3 separate regions of the Homo sapiens genome follow, and all the other regions are linked to region 1. Evidence: promoter capture Hi-C in 16 types of primary human blood cells and fetal thymus (Javierre and others, 2016). All regions are on one chromosome and are shown on one strand. The core of a region is centred on a gene start or on the middle of the fragment in contact, and the rest is flanking DNA. Distances in the headings are between cores, read along the strand shown.

Region 1 (2,828 bases), core at 106-2,605:
ACACAGGATGCCAGAACTGATTATTGTAAAAAAAAAAATAATAATAACAATAATGTGCAGACATTTGAAAATCTAACTCTCATTTTTTCCAGAGCATGAAAGGAAGGCCTAGAAATGGTAAGTGACCTTTTCAAATCCCCTGGGGTGAAAACCAGGTCCCCAATAACCTGTCGTTTCACAAGAAAAGGAGAAAGGGTAAAGGCGGCCGTGATGTCAGCGAAAGACCTCCAAGACAGAAAACCTTGCAGTCCCCGTGCTCTGCCTCTTTCACGGGAGACCTGGGCAACGCACACGTTGCTAGGCCTCAATTTCTTCAACTGTAAAATGAGGGGGTTGGAGGAGCTTGAAAAGCTCCTTCCAGCTCTGAGATGCTGCGCTATAAAGTGAGAGAAATGTGAACCTTTAGTTGTTATGATCTGAAAATATTTTGAATGTGGAGAATCAAATTGTAGAGCAGTGCATGAACAACATAATATGTTAATGACTAAGACGATTGTATTTAATCCGATGGGAAACAGCAGAGCTGCTGCCACCGCTGCTGTGTGTGTGCGTGTGTGTGGTGTGCACGCACGTGCGGTTTCCTTCCTTGAGCTCAAACATACATTTTGAATCACTAATATAGTAATCATGTCTCTGGCAGCCTATCTTGCCCAAACACACACGGAGAGACACCACACACCCTACTTCAAATTAAGGTGGGGGCGGGGGGAATTCCACTGCTGCTCTTTACATCATTTCTGTTTGGATAGCTATTTTTTAAAAGAAAGTTTTACAGTGAAGGTGTTGGACTCCCAGCCCAGAAGGGCTCTGATCTCAGAACTGGGACGCAAGGGTGGGGAGCTCGAGCTCTCATTAGCATTTCGCTTTTGCACACCCCCTGCCCGCTCCTCAGCCGTCACAATCCCGTCCTGCAGCAGGCCCCCCCACCAACACCGGACCCTCGACGGGGAAGGGGTCAGCTCGGCGGCCCCAGAGGCCACTGGGCCAGAACACGTGCTCCGGACTCCACGTGCGCGGAAAATGAACTCGTACCCGCGACGCGGCCGGCGGGGGCGGATGGCAGCGAGGGCCGGACAGCGAACCTTTACCCCGCGGAGGAGTCGGGGCCGGAGCCCGCACGTGGGTCTGCGACGGCCCCGCCCCCTGGGGGCGTCCCCTCAGGGACTCTAGCCCCGGCTGGTGGGCCCTGCAGGCCCGGGCCCGACCGCGTCCGCCAGGCCGCCCGGAGGTCCCGGCGAGCCCGGCGGAGGCGGCGGCCCCTCCCCGCCCGACGGCCACGCCCGCGCGGATTGGCCGCTCCCCGACGGCGGGGCGGGGCGGGACGGGCCGGGGCAGAGCTCGCGGCCAGGTGAGGCGCCCCGCCCCTCGGCGGCTCCAGGTGCGGCTGTGGGACCTCGGACCGCGGCGGGGCCGGGGCCAGGGCCGGGGCCGGGGCCGGGGCGCCATGGCCGAGTCCCAGCTGAACTGCCTGGACGAGGCGCACGTGAACGAGAAGGTGACCGAGGCGCAGGCCGCCTTCTACTACTGCGAGCGGCGGCGGGCCGCGCTGGAGGCGCTGCTGGGCGGCGGCGAGCAGGCCTACCGCGAGCGGCTCAAGGAGGAGCAGCTGCGGGACTTCCTCTCCAGCCCGGAGCGCCAGGCCCTGCGGGCCGCCTGGAGCCCCTACGAGGACGCCGTCCCCGCCGCCAACGCCCGGGGCAAGAGCAAGGCCAAGGCCAAGGCCCCCGCGCCGGCGCCGGCTGAGTCCGGCGAGTCCCTGGCCTACTGGCCCGACCGTTCCGACACCGAGGTGCCTCCTCTGGACCTGGGCTGGACGGACACTGGTTTCTACCGCGGCGTGAGCCGGGTCACGCTCTTCACCCACCCGCCCAAGGACGAGAAGGCGCCGCACCTCAAGCAGGTGGTCAGGCAGATGATCCAACAGGCCCAGAAGGTAGGCCCCCGCCTTCGCCCCCACACCGCTGGGACCTCGGCCCCAGTCCCCTGGACCGGGCCCCACCTCCCAGGCAGGGCCCGGGGCAGGCCGCCCTGAGCACCCTCTGGAAAATGGGCCCCAACCCGCCCCTACTTCCTGGGGCTGCAGTGAGGCCTGTAGAGCGAATGGCTGGGAACGTGTTTGGCAAATTACAAGGTGCTGGACAGATGTCAGCCGTCGGTATTCCAGCGTTCAGAGGCACTGGCTCTGCTCTGTACTTCTGAAACTTCCCTGTCCAGCCTTCCTCCCCAGGGAAGACTGGGGGCCGAGGCCCTGTGGTTAAAATGCACCACTCAAAGGTCTTGATGATAACCTACGTGCTGCCCAGAACATATCCCGAGCCGCTTTCTCATGTGATCGTCAAAACAACTTCAGGGAGTGGGTGGCGGTGACCTTCCCGGTCCCACCTCTGCCATGCTGCTCCTTGGACCACCCCTCTCCTCCCATAGTCAAAGCTGAGCTGGCGCCCTCACAGTCACAGCCTCTCCTGGGCCGGGTACTAGGCCCCAGCTGCCTGGAATGAATGGGGGACGGGGTATATTGAGGACCTACTGTGTGCCTGGCCCTGTGCTGGGCGCCTTGGCACAGCAGGTCACCTGACTCGGCAGCTCAGGAAAGGGCTCCTACTTAGCATATGTGTCCTGCTTGAGAGTTGGAAGGAGGGGCTGTTTCCAGGGTGGCTGGTGAGGCCAGTCCACTGTGGAACAGGTGGAAGACTTTAATCTTTATGCCTTTGGGTGGGAGTCCTGGGCAGCTTCCAGATCAAATGTAGGATGCCCCACTACATTTGAACTTTCAATAAACAACACATAACTTTTTAGTATCAGCTTATCCCAAACATGACATGAGACGT
Region 2 (2,828 bases), core at 181-2,680, 250 kb before region 1:
TTTTTGAGATGGATTCTCACTCTGTTGCCCAGTGGCTGGAGTGCAGTGGCACAATCTTGGCTCACTGCAAGCTCCACCTCCAGAGTTCAAGCGATTCTCTGCCTCAGCCTCCCGAGTAGCTGGGATTACAGGTGCCCGCCACCATGCCCGGCTAATTTTTTTTTGTATTTTTAGTAGAGACGGGATTTCACCATCTTGCCCAGGCTGGTCTTGAACTCCTGACCTCGTGATCCACCTGCCTCGGCCTCCCAAAGTGCTGGGATTACAGATGTAAGCTGCCACACCAGGTCTCTCTAACAGTGGTTTTTAAGAACCTATGTCATCTGTCATCTTTGCTCCATGACCTTGAACTCCGTCTACTCTCCCCTTTGCTCACTTCACTCCAGCCACACCAGCTTTCTTGCCATTCTTCAACCACGCCAAATTCCTCCAGCTTTAAGGTCTTTTCACTGACAATTCCTTTATCACTTAATCCAGTCTGCATGATGAAAACCAGTTTCAATTTGTCTGGGAGCAGGACCCTGGCATTAGTATATTTTTAAAATGTTTCGTATGTCTTCAAAATAATCAGGATTATTTTAGCCTCGAGTTGGTAATTGTTGAAACTGAGTGATGGGCACATGGAGCCCATTACACGATTCTCTCAGACAAATATAAAACAAAAGAAAAGCTTCTGTGGTGATTCCAGTGTGCAGCAGGGTTGGGAATCACTGGCCTGTAATCCCCAAACCGGACTGTTTTGCCCATAAATAACAGACATTTCTATTTGAAAGGCTGTCTTAATGAATTAAAAAGATACACAGAAGATGAAAAATATCAAATTTATTTTCTGAAGTAGAATAAAAGGATGCATTTGAATTCACCTTGCAATATACATTGACAGTAAAAACATTTGCCCCATGTCCTTCTTGTTTCCATTTAACTCCTAACACTAGCATCTGGAAGAAAGAAAAGATTTCTGGCCCTTGGTTGCAGAACCTAAAACTTGCAAAAGAATGTGTGAAATGTATACCCCCAAACTCAATCCTCCTAGGTCACCTCAGAGGCTTGTTAACAAGCTCCATACAGTTGAAAGATAAAGAGCTTCTTCCTGCCTCCTTATCCAAAAGCTCTTGAATAGTCATTTGCAGTTTGAGGTCTTACCACAATTTTCACTAATGCTTAACCCATTTGAGGTACAGAGCATGAAAGAATGAAATTCTCTTCTGTTTCAAATGAACTAATATCTAAATCTGAAATTATCAAAGGTGACATCTTTCCCTTTTAAAAAATAAACCACCCAAATGAAAGTATTAGTTTGAAAGATACTTGCTAATAAACCTGACAAGGAAAAATTAAACCATCCCCTTTTTTGCCATAATAATATGAATTTATACAATGCTAACGTAAGTCTTGGGGAAGTGGAACCACACGAGTTCTATCAAAAATAGATATTGTGATGATTAGATCTGATCTGAGCTCCCCTCAGAAGACTGGGGGACCTGGGAAGACTGGCTTATTTGTGAACTATTCAGACTCATGCTCATCAAGATGTTATTGATGACATTAAGTTCTTGGATCACTGTGCTCAGATCTTCATGTAATCTAGCGATCGCACGTTTTACCTCCCTTAAAAGAACACTAATGGAATTCTTTGCTTCAGGTTCCTGGGGGAAGTCTTTGGTTGACTGAAAACCAGAACAGGACAGAGGGATGAACTGGTCTACATTTTGGGTGGAAAACTCCCCCCAGTGACTACTAGAAATGTGACTTATATTCTTTTTAGCAGAATCAGAGTTATTTGGAAGAATTCCCAGTAGATTGAGGCTATCATTTTCCTCTACATCAGAAGACACTGGGCCCCTAGAAGCAAAGGAGTGATGCAGCTTGGCTGTCTTATCTTCATCTTTAAAGGAGGTAGAAGACAACTGTTGATGGGACAGAGTCCAGAAGGAAGGTCCGGCCAGAATTGGTGATAAGAGATGAGCTGACTTCTCTGGAGAGGCTAAATCAGGAGATGACATGGATAAAGGAGAAAAGGAAGATGCTCCCTCAGAAGCAGTTGAAACTAAAATGTGTAAATGAGAGAAAAAAGATTTATGCAACATACAAATGAGAGTAATAGCTAAAATAATTTTATAATGTAAAAGCCTATCTGGAAGGGCTCAACATAAATAAACTGCTTAGAATTTTAAATGTTAACTATTCATAATAAGCTTAAAAAAACCCAAAGCAGGAAACTAAGAAAATCTACAGATGTATTATATATCAATAATACCATGGAAATGAAACTAAAATAGAATTATCAATATTCATCTTGACTCATCTTGACTCAAACCCTGCCCAACATATTTTTACACTAAACTTAATCAGAGAGAGTAGAAAAGTATTAAACCCCATTCTACTGACTGCCAGCATTTTAAGTTGGTATTTAAAGTAGAAAGTGAGAAACCTGTAACAGATTCCTTCAACTTTTTAATTTTTTTTCCTGTAGAGATTATTATGGCAAAATGAACTACCAACTACAAGTACCCAAAAGTTAGTGAAATAAATATTTTTCTGTCTATAGTGAAATATAATCAAGACTGAAGTCCAACACATCTGAAATCTAGAATACTTTAGCACACGTATATAATCATTTTTTTTCTCACCAAGAAACTAAGTGAAGTAAAAAGCATTCTAAGCCTTTTTTTCCATAAAATTACATATTTGGGAAAGTTTTTACTTCCTTTCTGGCAAAATCATATTAAATCTCCCACACTTTATTCTAAATCATTTCCCAAACTTTTCTGAGAAACACTGTGTTCCTTCAGATGTTAGAAGATGTTTTGTAAAAACAGGCTTCATAG
Region 3 (2,828 bases), core at 1-2,500, 230 kb before region 1:
GTGTGTTTGGCAGACTCACCCCGTGTGGTTGTCTTGAGGATTTTATCATCCATCTGAATGCTGGATTGTGCTGGTTTCTGGTAGGCCTTGTTGATTACAATCTCCTTCACTCGGTCAAATATTTTGAATGAGGGAGAGAGACAGAGTGTTTCTACAGAGGCCTGGTTATGGAAAGTAGAATCTGACTTTGATACCCTTAAGTCGGGGCTGATAAACTCCTCTTTACTTGACCAACATGCTGGTAAAATTGTCAATGTTTTAAGACCTTCTGCAGCTGATTGCTTTTCTAAAGGTGTTTCCAAGAGGTTTTCTGTGACAGTATTTGTAAAGATACCATCTGATCTCTTGTCCAAACTCACATCTCTCTGCCCAGAAGGACTATTTTCTGAGAGAGTAGGCACAGCATCTATAAAAGAACAAATAAGAGCTATAATCAAAAAATAAAACTGAAAATACTCTATTTCAAATCTGTTATAATTTTAATAAATAGGATTTTTTAATGTCATAACAGAATTCTTTCCTATTTAGCCCTCTGCTTTCTTACTATGCTTCTATATTCTGCCTATTTAAAGTACACCCAAGCTATAATTGACGCCTTAGTCATTTTGGTAGCTGCCTTCTCCCTCTCTCCTCACTGAAGCACAAAGCAAGGAAAGCTTCAAATAACTTGTCTTTAAATATTTCTCCCTTCACCCACTTATCTGTCGCTGAAACCACCATATTTTTAGTACTTTCCAACTTTCATCTTTTTTACAAGATAAACTAGGGAAAATATGCCACATCATACTGGTCTATCCTTACAGAACCCTCAGCTACAAAAAAAAAAAAAAAAAAAAAAAAAAAAAAGAAAGAAAAAGAAAAGCTTTCTCCCCAAAAATAAAGAATGTCTTCTTCCACACAGTTTCTATATGCAAGGCACATTAAAGAAACTCAGTACTTTAGGTAGAAGCTTAATTTTAATAAATGCTTTGTCTATACGGAAGAAAGGAAACAATCTTTCAGAGCTGTTCTGACAATTAGTAAAATATAAGTTCCACTGGGCTGGAGATCTTTGTCCATTCTAGTGGTTAATATCACCAAAGTACATAAAATAGTCCCTAGAATATAACAAACAATATTTATTACAAATAGAAAACACTGAAGGAATTGTAAGAAACTGAAACTGAAGGTGGGCCTGATCCAGGAATGTCTATTGAATCTACGCATTATAGACCTGGTCCGAGTTTCTAGATGCAAATTCTTAGGAACACCCTCAGCGCCAGGGCTTGCTCTGTAACAGCTCCATCTGAACCGGGATACGAAAAGAAAGACCGTTATTTTTATGAGGTTGTGTTCATGAAACGAGAAGCATGATGAGGTAGAAGAGGGCCAAAGGAAGAGGCTATCTTTCGAAGCTCCCAAAAGAGGACGCAGAAATTGTGTGATTCACTATTGAGTGATTATACATCACAATGTATGTCATAAAATACTTCAGAATGCACATTTACATGCTATCCTCATCACTTTTGGGCTCTGAGTTATTAAAGAAAAGAAACTTTTCTTTGTCTCTATAAAGCTTCCTTTTCATTTTCATCTGCAGTTGGAGGTTAGCCTTAGCAAAAATACTGCTGGTATGTACCACAGAATTAAGACAGTTCAAGAAACTTACATTGCTATCTTCACCAGAAATTCCATTTTTCTTCCATCCTCTCATCTTTTAAAACTCAATTCAAGTATCACTTTCTCTTTAAAGCTTGCCCTGACCCTTTTCTTTCCTCACCCTATCCTATTATTGTCTATCTTCACATGTCCTGTTTGAAGCTCTGTGAGTAATTATAACACTTCATATCTCATTTATCTTGTCCCCTACCTGACAAAAGTCTCCTTGAGGAGACCTTGCAAGGAGTCATCTTCGTGTCTCAGCACCTAACAGTGCCATTCCCAGAGGACAGGTTCAATGAATGCTCATTGGGTGCAAGGGAAACTGAAGCACAAAGATGAAAGAAAAAGTAACGCCTTCATTTTTCTAAACTGAATATAGTTTAACTGCTTAATAATGATTAAAGGAAATAGGTAGATGAAAAGAACCTCTCCTAAAATATTCCTAATTTGCATATGACTGAATTATATTTAGATGATTGAAAGTCTGTTAAAAATACCAAATATAAGCCAGGCGCAGTGCCTGTAGTCCCAGCTACTGGGAGGCTGAGGTGGGAAAATCACTTGAGCCCAGGAGTTTGAGACCAGCCTGGGCAACATTGTGAGACCCCATTTCTATGAAAAACAAAACAAAACAAAACAAAACACCCAAACGAATATATTCCTAGTTGAGTACTAGATTACTAGATTTATGGTATTTCAAAGTGACTTTGCATATCACCACATTTACATCAAATCATTCATTAAAAGTGAATTTTAGTTAAATATTTTTCCATTGACTTTCATTTTACATGTGAGAAAAACAAGACAAAAATGTTTTGCTCTATATGTAATAAGATCATCTTAAAATTTAGCAATATTAAACTAGGACATTTCAGAATGACCAGAACTTTCTGATGAAAATATTCACAATACTTAATCTAAATCTCAAAATTCAGATGCATAAAGTTGTCTGTATGGCTGCCATTTTAAGGTTTAGTAAAAAAGTTTAAAATGAAACAAATGAACAAATCCTTAAAATTCAATGAAGCAAACCAGACAGAAGTCATTCCATTTCTACCCACCCCCTTTCCCAATAGCCCGGGAAGAATAGGCTGCAATCTTTTGGTTGCTTGGACTTTTGCTAAAGTTGCTAACTTTTTAAATGAATCAAATACTATGACCTAGAAGAAGCCAAATGAAAAATAATG

The links. The method cuts DNA at HindIII sites, captures the fragments that hold promoters and counts their contacts. A CHiCAGO score of 5 or more calls a contact.
Region 2: a fragment that was not itself captured here is called in contact with the fragment with the promoter of FAM83F in region 1 in 3 of 17 cell types (M0 macrophages, M1 macrophages and M2 macrophages); the score reaches 7.1 in M0 macrophages.
Region 3: a fragment that was not itself captured here is called in contact with the fragment with the promoter of FAM83F in region 1 in 1 of 17 cell types (M0 macrophages); the score reaches 5.2 in M0 macrophages.

The regions. Positions count from the first base shown.
Region 1 is chr22:39,993,599-39,996,426 of GRCh38, forward strand. It overlaps FAM83F (family with sequence similarity 83 member F), which reads left to right and starts at 1,356. Exons shown (of 5, transcript NM_138435.4): 1 at 1,356-1,933. The coding sequence starts at 1,445. It overlaps LOC124905155, which reads left to right. Exons shown (of 2, transcript XM_047441700.1): 2 at 750-1,170. The coding sequence ends at 1,170. RefSeq lists an enhancer at 1,071-1,704 and a silencer at 1,279-1,398. The HindIII fragment of the contact is 8,768 bases long and covers 1-2,828 here.
Region 2 is chr22:39,742,237-39,745,064 of GRCh38, forward strand. It overlaps ENTHD1 (ENTH domain containing 1), which reads right to left. Exons shown (of 7, transcript NM_152512.4): 7 at 808-2,047. The coding sequence ends at 1,443. Among named protein-coding and RNA genes, the nearest start is that of ENTHD1, 150 kb to the right of the region's middle. The HindIII fragment of the contact is 1,525 bases long and covers 669-2,193 here.
Region 3 is chr22:39,765,204-39,768,031 of GRCh38, forward strand. It overlaps ENTHD1 (ENTH domain containing 1), which reads right to left. Exons shown (of 7, transcript NM_152512.4): 6 at 20-406. Among named protein-coding and RNA genes, the nearest start is that of ENTHD1, 130 kb to the right of the region's middle. The HindIII fragment of the contact is 606 bases long and covers 948-1,553 here.